Regions from separate parts of the Homo sapiens genome. Here region 2 is linked to region 1. The links are contacts of gene promoters, found by promoter capture Hi-C in human tissues and cell types (Jung and others, 2019). All regions are on one chromosome and are shown on one strand. The core of a region is centred on a gene start or on the middle of the fragment in contact, and the rest is flanking DNA. Distances in the headings are between cores, read along the strand shown.

Region 1 (6,476 bases), core at 1,049-3,548:
AGTAAAAAGAAACAACAAAAAGCAATAAAAAACAAAACACCCATTCATGCAACGACATGAACGAACCTCACAAATATTATACTGAGTAAAAGAAGTCAGACAAATATAAAACAAAGTTTATACTACGTGATTAGATCTTTATGACATTCTAGAATATGCACATGAAGGTACAAGGTAACTGTCTGGAATGATGAAAATGTCCTGTGTCTTCAAAATAGTGTGGGTTACACTAATGCATGGCTTTTTCAAAACTGATTTAAAGGGACACAACATCTGAGCATTTCCCTAGGTGTAAATTACACTGCAATTTTAAAGAATCATCTAATGATATTGTGGTTATTTTTAAACAGTCCTTAAATTTTGTGGATGCATACTGAATGTTTACAGCTGAAAAGATATATATAAAGCTTGAATTTGGTAAAAAAAAAAAAAAAAGAGGGAGGATTGGTAGTGATAAAGTGAGTGGACTTATGGATGAGACATGATCAGCCATGCATTGAAAAAATGTAAAAGTTGGATGATCTTCACATGAGAGTCCTTTATTCTGTCTACTTTTGCATATGTTTGAATATTTCCCATAACAAAAAGTTGAAAATAGAGTGATCACATGAGTTAATCTCCTAATTTACAAAAAAGAAAACTGGAAACAGAAGGAGAACAAAACTTGTTCAAGGTCTCAAAGCCAGACAGCAAACTAGCTCCCAAGTCCAACCTTCTTGCTCTGGTCCTAAGCAAACAAAAAATATTAATATGAGCTACTGCATTAAGGAAAGTCTGCTTTTCCAAAGGGCAGACCAATAGTTCAAGGAAGAGTTTAAATAATAAATATTTGTGATCTTACTTTCATGCTTTTCTATTTTCCACTGAACACATATGCATTATCTTCTATATGTCTTTTATGTATAATCATTTGCTTCCTGTTCCTTGTGGTTTTAAAGTTGTTTTGTATGTTTAAATTTGATTTTACTCAAATTTCAGAACCCAAATTAGCGCAAGAATCAGACAAAGCATAACTTTCTATAAATATAAAAACAATTAAAAAAAAAACATACAGCAAAAACGAGTTGTTGTTTCCCCCCTCCTCTTCCAGTGCTTAACTAATCTTCCGAATCCAGGCACAGAAAGCAAAGGCTTTCTGCTAGTGGGAGGAGCTTGCTTCTCCATTCTGGTGTGATCCAGGAACAGCTGTCTTCCAGCTCTGAAAGAGGTGAAAATGTGTTAAGCGATGCAAAAATTGTCTTGAAGTTCGCGTGTGTATGTCTGTGTGCATGTGCGTGTGGTGGGTGGGGGGAGAGAAAAGGGGGTGTCAATTCTGAGGGCAACGAGAATCAGAAGTCAGAAAGGTGAGTGGTGTGTAGCATCTCCCTTTCAGAAGGGGCTGAAGAAGAAATTGGATATGATGGTCCGGTAGGCTAAATCACGCTGGATTTGTCTCCCAGATAAAGGGAGGTCTGCAAAGTAAGTCCCATTTCTAGAGCGAAAAGCCTTAGGACCGCTTGTTTTAGACGGCTGGGGAATATTTATTCCTTGTTCCACTGATGGGAAAATCAGCGTCTGGCAGGCGCTGATTGGTGGAAAGGAAAATGGTGATAGTGGCGTGGAAAGAGGATTTGCTGAGCCTTCTCCTGCCTCCTCAACCTGTGACTCTTCCTTAGTAGTCTCCCTTTCACCCTCAGGACCCTTTCCGGCTCTTCCTAGATTAAGAGCAAACGAAAACCTTGAAGATATTTGAACTAAAGCGACCCCTAACGTTGTAACCTGTGACCGTGATTAAATTTCAGCGATGCGAGGGCAAAGCGCTCTCGGCGGTGCGGTGTGAGCCACCTCCCGGCGCTGCCTGTCTCCTCCAGCAGCTCCCCAAGGGATAGGCTCTGCCCTTGGTGGTCGACCCTCAGGCCCTCGGCTCTCCCAGGGCGACTCTGACGAGGGGTAGGGGGTGGTCCCCGGGAGGACCCAGAGGAAAGGCGGGGACAAGAAGGGAGGGGAAGGGGAAAGAGGAAGAGGCATCATCCCTAGCCCAACCGCTCCCGATCTCCACAAGAGTGCTCGTGACCCTAAACTTAACGTGAGGCGCAAAAGCGCCCCCACTTTCCCGCCTTGCGCGGCCAGGCAGGCGGCTGGAGTTGATGGCTCACCCCGCGCCCCCTGCCCCATCCCCATCCGAGATAGGGACGAGGAGCACGCTGCAGGGAAAGCAGCGAGCGCCGGGAGAGGGGCGGGCAGAAGCGCTGACAAATCAGCGGTGGGGGCGGAGAGCCGAGGAGAAGGAGAAGGAGGAGGACTAGGAGGAGGAGGACGGCGACGACCAGAAGGGGCCCAAGAGAGGGGGCGAGCGACCGAGCGCCGCGACGCGGAAGTGAGGTGCGTGCGGGCTGCAGCGCAGACCCCGGCCCGGCCCCTCCGAGAGCGTCCTGGGCGCTCCCTCACGCCTTGCCTTCAAGCCTTCTGCCTTTCCACCCTCGTGAGCGGAGAACTGGGAGTGGCCATTCGACGACAGGTTAGCGGGTTTGCCTCCCACTCCCCCAGCCTCGCGTCGCCGGCTCACAGCGGCCTCCTCTGGGGACAGTCCCCCCCGGGTGCCGCCTCCGCCCTTCCTGTGCGCTCCTTTTCCTTCTTCTTTCCTATTAAATATTATTTGGGAATTGTTTAAATTTTTTTTTTAAAAAAAGAGAGAGGCGGGGAGGAGTCGGAGTTGTGGAGAAGCAGAGGGACTCAGGTAAGTACCTGTGGATCTAAACGGGCGTCTTTGGAAATCCTGGAGAACGCCGGATGGGAGACGAATGGTCGTGGGCACCGGGAGGGGGTGGTGCTGCCATGAGGACCCGCTGGGCCAGGTCTCTGGGAGGTGAGTACTTGTCCCTTTGGGGAGCCTAAGGAAAGAGACTTGACCTGGCTTTCGTCCTGCTTCTGATATTCCCTTCTCCACAAGGGCTGAGAGATTAGGCTGCTTCTCCGGGATCCGCTTTTCCCCGGGAAACGCGAGGATGCTCCATGGAGCGTGAGCATCCAACTTTTCTCTCACATAAAATCTGTCTGCCCGCTCTCTTGGTTTTTCTCTGTAAAGTAAGCAAGCTGCGTTTGGCAAATAATGAAATGGAAGTGCAAGGAGGCCAAGTCAACAGGTGGTAACGGGTTAACAAGTGCTGGCGCGGGGTCCGCTAGGGTGGAGGCTGAGAACGCCCCCTCGGGTGGCTGGCGCGGGGTTGGAGACGGCCCGCGAGTGTGAGCGGCGCCTGCTCAGGGTAGATAGCTGAGGGCGGGGGTGGATGTTGGATGGATTAGAACCATCACACTTGGGCCTGCTGTTTGCCTGAGTTTGAACCACACCCCGAGTGAGCAGTTAGTTCTGTTGCCTACGCCTTTCCACCATCAACCTGTTAGCCTTCTTCTGGGATTCATGTTAAGGATACCCCTGACCCTAAGCCTCCAGCTTCCATGCTTCTAACTCATACTGTTACCCTTTAGACCCCGGGAATTTAAAAAAGGGGTTAATCTTTTCATGCAACTCCACTTCTGAAATGCAGTAATAACAACTCAGAGGATTCATCCTAATCCGTGGTTAGGTGGCTAGACTTTTACTAGCCAAGATGGATGGGAGATGCTAAATTTTTAATGCCAGAGCTAAAAATGTCTGCTTTGTCCAATGGTTAAATGAGTGTACACTTAAAAGAGTCTCACACTTTGGAGGGTTTCTCATGATTTTTCAGTGTTTTTTGTTTATTTTTCCCCGAAAGTTCTCATTCAAAGTGTATTTTATGTTTTCCAGTGTGGTGTAAAGGAATTCATTAGCCATGGATGTATTCATGAAAGGACTTTCAAAGGCCAAGGAGGGAGTTGTGGCTGCTGCTGAGAAAACCAAACAGGGTGTGGCAGAAGCAGCAGGAAAGACAAAAGAGGGTGTTCTCTATGTAGGTAGGTAAACCCCAAATGTCAGTTTGGTGCTTGTTCATGAGTGATGGGTTAGGATAATCAATACTCTAAATGCTGGTAGTTCTCTCTCTTGATTCATTTTTGCATCATTGCTTGTCAAAAAGGTGGACTGAGTCAGAGGTATGTGTAGGTAGGTGAATGTGAACGTGTGTATTTGAGCTAATAGTAAAAAATGCGACTGTTTGCTTTTCCAGATTTTTAATTTTGCCCTAATATTTATGACTTTTTAAAAATGAATGTTTCTGTACCTACATAATTCTATTTCAGAGAACAGTTTTAAAAACTCATAGTCTTTTAAAAAATAATCAAGAATATTCTTAAGAATCAAAATCATTGATGGATCTGTGATTTCTTTTACCATCATGAAAAATGTTTGTCAATTTTAATCCATTCTGATTTTTAAAATATGACTTTGATATGCCCCTGTGATGTGTATAAAGAGACCTATTTGTGGCCCTAAAATGGAAAGAACAGATTAGTCTTTGATAGAGTTACTTCATGTGATCATTTGGTCTCTGTGAACACTGAGGACAGAGAAAAGTGCTTGAGGGCTGCTACTAATCTCTCAGAAACATTTGTATAGTTCATCCATCAAATGACACACATACTAAAAGAATAAAGAAATTGATGCTTATTACCTACTTGTTCCTAAAGTTCCACCTTGGGGTATACACCCAAACTCTGACTCTCTTTTCTGTAACTTGAACTGTATTCAATTGAGTGTTATTTTACAAACCACTTTGAATTCCTTGGAAAAGAATAGACACACACTCTCATCCACAGGCATAGACACACACACTCAACACAGACACATTGCCCATTCTTCCTCTCTTCTTTCTCCTCTGAGCTTTTTCACATTCTCTGGTGGCAACTATAGCAGTAAGAGTCACAGGATGAACAGTCAGGTGGAGGATGACCACATTGAGTTGCCTAGCTGAAACATGTGCTCCGTCTATGTCTGCAAAGTGAAAGAAAGCTACACTATCTCTTCAACATAGATCAGTGGGGGAAATTTTATACTTGGGATGATTTATATGAATGCATCTCATCAAAGTTCACAACACATTTTTTTTTCAGTTTTTTATTTTCAGTTTTTAGAGTCAGGGCCTTGCTCTGTCGCCCAGGCTGGACTGCAGTGATGCTATCATAGCTCACTGCATCCTTGAATTCCTGGGCTCAAGTCATGCCCCCACCTCAGCCTCCTGAGTAGCCAGGATTATAGGCATGTGCCACTGCCTCATTATTTAGACTTTTCTTATGTTGACTTAATCTTCCCACAAATCTTCAATTAAATTACTTTTTTTCTACCTTAAAACATATTTTCAGAAAGTCATTGAAATAGGGTGTTACAAGAGGAAAAAATTGATGAGTTAATTTTAAATATTTTATGAAGTGTGAATTATACCTTTTTAGATGGAATTTGGAATACTGAATCAGTGACATGCAGTTTATCAATATCTTTCCGTTTGTCCTCAGATTTCCAAGTTCTGCAAGCACAAGTTTCTTTGACTTAGTTACCTTTTAACTGTTCATTGAAATCATTTTCAATGTCTCTCATGGCATTTAACACATAGCACATTCTATAAATTTTTTATTGGTTACATTCTGAGTTCTAATTGAGAGTTGAACTTACACACAGAATTTAAGATAAAAAATGACCATGTGAAGACACAATAGTATAGTCCAGGGATTGGCAAAATTTTGGGTAAGGAATCAGATAGCACGTATTTTAAGCCATGAGATCTATGTCTTGGCCAGGTGCCGTGGCTCAGGTCTTTAATCCCAGCACTTTGAGAGCCCGAGGCTGGTGGATCACTTGAGCCCAGGGGTTTGAGACCAGCCTGGGCCACATGGTGAAACCCTGTGTCTACAAACAACGCAAAAATTAGCCGGGTATGGTAGCATGCATGTGTATTGCCAGCTACCCAGGAGGCTGAGGTAGGAGGATGGCTTGAGCCATACAGCTCACTGCAGAGGTTGCAGTGAGCTGAGATCGAGCCACTGCACTCCAGCCTGGGTGGCAGAGTGATACCCTGTCTAAAAAAAAGAAAAAAAAATCTATGTCTCAATTCTGCTGTTGAAGTGTGAAGGTAGTCATAAACAATAACTAGTGTGGCTGTGTCCCAATAAAACTTCATTTATCAAAACAGGTGGTGGGCTGGAATTGTCTTGTATGTTGTAGCTTGCTGACTACTGATAGAGTGGAAAGAACATGCACTAATCACACAAACCAAAGTTTTAGTTGAGACTACATCACTTATCACCTTTAGGGTCTTGGGGAAGCGTACTTAACATCTCTGAGCATCACTTCCCTGATTAGTAAAAAATATGATTTAGAAAACTGCAACTACCTTGCAGTTTTTGTGGGAATGTCATAATAAGACAGGACATATGAATAATTGAGCACACTTTTATATATAGGAACCATGGTTATTATTATCAAATAAACTCTCCAACGGAATAATTACTTTGCCAACACGTTTTCCATTTATTCTTTTATCCTTCATTACATAACTAGTTTGAAAGATTGGAGGCGACCAAAGACC
Region 2 (6,476 bases), core at 1,269-3,768, 41 kb after region 1:
GAGAGGGCAGCTTGATTACAGGTCTTATCTTTTGACTAACTTGCTAGGCCACCTGAGAAGGACCCAAATTATCTGAATGCTTAACTCAACTAATTTGTATTCACTTGAAGAATTTCAAGGATGTTTATATGCCATCAACTTGCTTTAAATTTTTTCTCTCAGTGAAAATTTTTCTTAAAATGAGTATGTGGTATTCAAATTTATCCTTGTTTTCTATGATTATCTTTTCATAGCACTGTGGTTTCCAGGAACCTTTTTTTTTTTGAGATGCATTCTACATGTAACTATTGCACAGTTTGCATGTAGTAAGGTTCATTATTCTTCTACTTTTCCAAACACCTGGCATGTTTACTTGAGGTTGGTACACCTTGTATCCCAGATTTTGCTGTTTTTAACTTAAATATTGAATATTTTGATTAAACATTATGGAAAGTTTAAATGGGTCAAGAAAAATAGCTTTTCTTCCCATGAAGAACAATACGGCATAGGAGTTAAGAGCATAGATTTAAAGTCAGAAAACCTGTGCTGCCTACTTGTGCAAAGTCACTTACATGCTGTACTTCTGTTTCTTCATCTGTAAGTTCTACCCCTAGGTATTTACTTAAGATTAATGGAAGCATATGTTCATACAATGACTTGTACAGAATTATTCACGATAGCATTACTCTTAATAGCTCTAACTGGTAACAACACAATAATCAATCAACAATTGTGCTGTATTCATACAGCAGAATACTACTTAGCAACAAAAATGGAATGGACTACTGATAACCTCAACAACATGGATGAATCTCAAAACTATCATGCTGTGTGATGCCAGGCACAAATCAGTACATACTATAATTCCAGAAAAGACAAATGTCATCCATGGTAACAACAAGATCCATGCTTGCTGGAGGTAGAGGCATCAGTTCAGTCATTCAGGAAGCTGATTCCAAGATGGTGTTAGAATTACAACCATCCACAAGAGATTTATTGCAGGCAATAGCTATGAAAGGTAGAAAGAGAACAGGAGAAAAACCAGGCAAGGAAAAACCACAATGTAGTTGTGATATCACTTCAAAGGGAGGCAGAAGGAAGGAGAATTGGGTAGGAATAGCCACAGATTACAGTGCAGTTACAAGAAAGTCTTGGCTTCCAACAAAGGTTACTTGTTGAGGAGTCATGCATTAGGCAGACATGTCTGGGCTGTAGTTTCCTTGCTGCTCCCAGTCATTGGCTGGAGGCCAGTCTGGGTTCCTGTGCTGTGGTGGATCCCATTGCTGCTGCAGCAGGAGGCCAATAGCACTCCTGGCAGCTAATTGGAGAGAAAAGATCCAAGAGGTGTACCTTCATGGCTACCCCCATGGGGCTGGGGTGGAGGTGGAGGAGAAGGAGAAGGAATTAACTAGAAAAAGGCACAAAGGAAAATTGGGGAAAATAATGAAGATATATGATTTCTCAATTGTGGTGGTCGTTACATGGGTTTATTAATGCATCAAAACTCAAGAAATGTACATTTAAAATGAGTGCATATGATTGTAAGTGAATTATACCTCAATATAGTTAATTTTTTAAAAATCATAGATTTCTTTATATTTAATGCATGAACATAAACCTAAGACACTCCTCCACTCCAAAACTTAATTACCTTGTGATCAGCAGAGCAGAAGGTACTTTGTGATATATAGGTAGAGAAGATGAAGTCTTGTGACATTTAACAAGGGACAGGAAAATGGACCTTGTCCTAAGTTACCAAACTGCAAAAATATCACCTACAAAGGCTATTCATAACATACATTTTCAAGGGGGTTACAATATTTGCCTACTATAAAATTTTGGATCTGTAAAGGGGTTAAATTATTTGTGCAGGGGAATAAACATCAAAGAAACATTAAGAGGTCCAGAGAAGTAAAATAGGAAGGGTCTTTTGGCTAGAGGAGATATTTAACTTTCAGAACATGTGGAATTAAGTTGTATTGATTATGATCTGATCTTCTTCCCCCTAAATTTGATCCTCTTCCTGTAATCTATTGTTTCCATCATCTTCAACTCTTCCCTTTCCCTCTCCCTTGTCCCTCAGTTCTAGTCAATCACAAAGTCCTACAGTTTCACTTTCTGTATACCTTATTTCTGGAATTCATCTCTAGACTTCAAAATATATATATATATATTTTTTTTTTTGAGATGGAGTCTCGCTCTGTTGCCCAGGCTGGAGTGCCGTGGTGCAATCTCAGCTCACAGCAGCCTCTGCCACCCAGGTTCAAGCGATTCTCCTAGTTCAGCCTCCTGAGTAGCTGGGATTACAGGCATCTGCCACCACGCCTGGTTAATTTTTGTATTTTCAGTAGAGATGGGGTTTCGCCATGTTGGCCAGGCTGATCTCGAACTCCTGACCTCAGGTGATCCACCCGCGTCAGCCTCCCAAAGTGCTGGAATTACAGGTGTGAGCCACTGCTTCCAGCCCAAAATATCTTAAGTAGATAATTGCACGACTAATCTCTGCTTTTCTCTCCCAGCAGCCTTCCAAATTCATGTCTCACAGCTGACAGAGTTGTTCCTGCCTTCAGATTCATGACCTGGCTCTGTGTTCTAGCTCAGGCTTTCTCTCTCATATCACCTCTTGCCTCTCTGTTGCCCCCATATTTTCCCCTCTGGTTGGTTGGTGCTCCTTTGGAACCCTCTGCATATCTTTTCAAGAATATTATGACTTATTATGCCTATAAACTTTGTTTAATTATTTATTTCTAAAATTTGACAGGGAACTTTCCGAAGGCAGGTATTGTGTCTTTCTCATTTAAAAGCAAATTCTCGCCTGGCATGGTGGCTCATGCCTGTAATCCCACACTTTGGGAGGCTAAGGTGGACAGATCACTTGAGCCTAGGAGTTCATGACCAGCCTGGGCAACACAGTTAGACCAAAAAAAAAATATATACGAAAATTAGCCTGGCATGGTGGCACACCCCCGTAGTCTCAGCTAGTCTGGTAGCTGAGGTGAGAGGATCACTTGAGCCTGGATGGTTGAGGTTGCAGTGAGCTGTGATTGTATCACTGCACTCCAGCCTGGGCAAAAAAGTAAGATCCTGTCTCAAAAAAAAAAAAAAAAAAAATTAGTGAATCCTCAGTGTTTAAAAAGTCCATAAACATACTAAACATAGAAGACCTCCAAATGAAATTAATCAATTATTATTTAGTGGGTTGCTTCTCTTTTGTTTTAATATAGTTTTAACAAAGAGTAAAAGTTATGATCTTTTTATATGTAAAATAAATAATGCCGGGTTTGACATAAATTTTAGGAAAACTAGAGACGCTACTTCCTAAAAATTTTCTTTCTATAATCTTCCTAAATATTTTTCCATAAAGTACAAAATAATAGAAAAAAATTAAGAGATTGAGTATCCTTTCAGGAAGTGATATGACAAATAGGGTTCGAGAACTATTTGAATTCTCACCACTTTTCATAAGGGCAGATCTCAAGTTAAATTTTTCTATTCGAATTTAAATGACTTTCACTGGAATACCATTACAGAAAAGCTTCTGTGTTTAGATGGCAATATGGAGTTTCTTTTCTTGGAATATTAATTGAAGGAGAAGTCTTAATTTTTTAAGTCTATATCTCCGTATATATTTGAACCTATTTTATATGTTAGTCCTTCTCTTTAGTAACCTTCATCCACAGTGAACAAGATTTACCCTTACCTTTAAGCAGTAGCGGCTACTTTATGTGAAGTGAACAGCTGCTTTTTTTATCTGCATCTAGACATCAAGTAGTCCAGAGTCCTTTCTAACACCCTAGCAATAGAAGTAAGAATATTTTGACCATTCCATGACTTGATGATACTTCTAGTAATAATACTGTATTATTAAAAACAAACAAACCTTTGTGCAGTGGTAATTGAAGCAGTTCCTTGGGAACATGTATTAAGTACTTTTTAGCAGTTAAGTCCACTCTCTGTAGGTTAAGGAATATTTAAATAAAATAATGTGGCAAATGAGTTCAAGATGATAAATGCGATGAGAACTAAAACAGCTTTAATTTTATGTGGGAAATAAATAGAGGAAAAGTACATTACAGGGCTCCTGGACTTATTTCTTTCTTCAAAGTGTTTCTCCTAGCGAATATTATTACTATTTTTTCTCTTAAGTAAAAAATACACAAAGTATGAATCTACACAGGATAATAATATTGAAGTTAAGGATGATGTCTCCTCCTTCACTCTCCAAAATACTATTTACTTGGCTTCATGGAAATCTCTCTCACTCCAATTCCACCGTGTCAACTGAGGTCTTCTGTTCTTTCTCTCCCTATAGCATATTCCTGTTACATAAATCCTAAACTGTGTCGTGTTAGTCACACACTGTAACCTCTAGATAAGCGCCTGTCCAGAGGTTCTCAATCAGAGCCTTGCAAATATGTATTAAATCAATGGGTCATCTTCAGTGTCTCAGTGGGCCCTTGGATATGTTTTGCAGACTGCTGTGAGTATGTAGGGATGTCCAGTATCGAGGGAAGTGTGGATGGCTTTCATTGGTTCTTATAGGGCTGAAGAACACATAGAGCAGTAAGCACTTCTACTGTAGGGAGAGATCGAGCTTCTCCCATCCCCACTGCTGGCACCACCACCACCCTACACCCCATTTTGAGTTCTGAAAGTGAATCCTTGAGAAAGAACACACAAAACAACCATCATAATAGTGGGCACAGCTGTGGGTGGTAGAATAACATTCCCAAGCTTCTTTTCCTACACATGATTAATATTAATTCAGCAAACATTTATTCAGCTCCTACTTTTAAACAGGCACTATTCTAGGTACTAAAGACATAGAGGCAAAGCATACAAGACTCTGCCTTTGTGAAACAATTAAGAAATAAGTAAAAAGAAAAGAAACAGAAAAGGCAATTTGGATAGTGTCAGGTGCTATAAAGAAAACAAAATGCCATTTTAATAAATAATAATAATACAATGTTTTCATACTATGTGCTAGACACTATGCTAGTAGGTATTTATAGACATAACCTCAATTAATCCTCAAAATGGCATGTTGATATCAATACCCCAAGTTTACATATGAGACTTAAGATGTCTGAGTATATTCCCCCAGGTAACAATTAATATGCACAATAAAACTTTTTGCTCATTCATTTATTAACCTATGTTGATTGAGTACCTATTTTGTGTCAGGCATCATTTTAAGGCACCTGGATATAGTTATGAACAAACAAATAAAAATCTCTGCCCTCAAATAATTAATATCTCACAGAGGTTAGGCAAAATATAATCAGAAAATAAGTATAACGTATAGGATGCCAGATCATGAAAGAAGCTATGAATGGCATCAAGAAGCTGGAAAAGGCAAGGAGACAGATTTTCTCCTAGAGTCTCCAAAACAGAACACAGTCCTGCCGACACCTTAACTTTAGGCTAGTGAGACCCCTATTGGACTTCAGACTTACAATCCCACAATGTAATAAATTTGTGGTAATTCAGTAGGGGAACAATAGAAAACTAATACGATATCAAAACAAATTATATCATAGAACAAGAAAATGTAATTGTGACAAATAATACCTACAAAAATGTTGTAAATGCTAGGCAAATAATGTGTTTAAAGCACTTAGGCCAATGTTCAACGTAAAGTAATTCATGCTATAATATCATCATCATCATTACCAATATTTAGGGGCTCTAACAAATGATGTACGTGTAAGCAGATGTAAGAAAATTTCCTTGCTGAAGAGGAGGTATTAATAGAGTATATAACAATAGATAACAAATTCCAAATAAAGGCAAACTAAATGTTTTATTGGATTAAATTTAATTTTAAAAACTACAAGAGGCCGGGCGCGGTGGCTCACGCCTATAATCCCAGCACTTTGGAAGGCTGAGGTGGGTGGATCACGAGGTCAGGAGATCGAGACCATCCTGGCCAACATGGTGAAACGCTGTCTCTACTAAAAATACAAAAATTAGCTGGGCCTGGTGGCGCGTGCCTGTAATCTCAGCTATTTGGGAGGCTGAGGCAAGAGAATCACTTGAACAACCAAGGAGTCGGAGGTTGCAGTGAGCCAAGATTGTGCCACTGCACTCCAGCCTGGCAACAGAGTGAGATCCCGTCTCAACAACAACAACAACAACAACAACAACAACAACAACAACAACAACAAAACTGTGAGATCCATGGTGGGCTTTTAAGAGGAAAATGCAAGCTAAGGTTTGTTTAGACTCTGAGTACTGCATGTGTAAAAATAAAGGCATGATGAAAAGATCAAGAGATTAGAGTGATACTTTTTATCTACTAGTGTCAGAGTCATGACCAGGGGATTGGCTATGAGAATACATAAGCTGTGCCAGGAGTAATCCAAGGAGATTGTTTCAATTTGGAAGAGTGTCCACAGAATGATTCTCATACTAGACGTTGGGCTATTGTAAAGAAAGTTGGTAGGTACTCCATCGCTAGGATCATATCAGGGAGAAATTGAACAGGATGGCCCTAA

Evidence for each region. The method cuts DNA at HindIII sites, captures the fragments that hold promoters and counts their contacts. A contact is called where the count stands out against the background at its distance.
Region 2: a contact is called between a fragment that was not itself captured here and the fragment with the promoter of SNCA in region 1, in 1 of the 25 tissues and cell types used here (hippocampus).

What each region holds. Positions count from the first base shown.
Region 1 is chr4:89,832,983-89,839,458 of GRCh38, reverse strand. SNCA (synuclein alpha) reads left to right here and starts at 2,298. Exons shown (of 6, transcript NM_000345.4): 1 at 2,298-2,497; 2 at 3,767-3,912. The coding sequence starts at 3,792. It overlaps SNCA-AS1 (SNCA antisense RNA 1), which reads right to left and starts at 3,058. Exons shown (of 4, transcript NR_045481.1): 1 at 2,725-3,058; 2 at 1,053-1,198. The HindIII fragment of the contact is 14,325 bases long and covers 1-6,476 here.
Region 2 is chr4:89,791,962-89,798,437 of GRCh38, reverse strand. The region is part of intron 4 of SNCA (synuclein alpha); the gene reads left to right. Among named protein-coding and RNA genes, the nearest start is that of SNCA-AS1, 41 kb to the left of the region's middle. The HindIII fragment of the contact is 3,193 bases long and covers 922-4,114 here.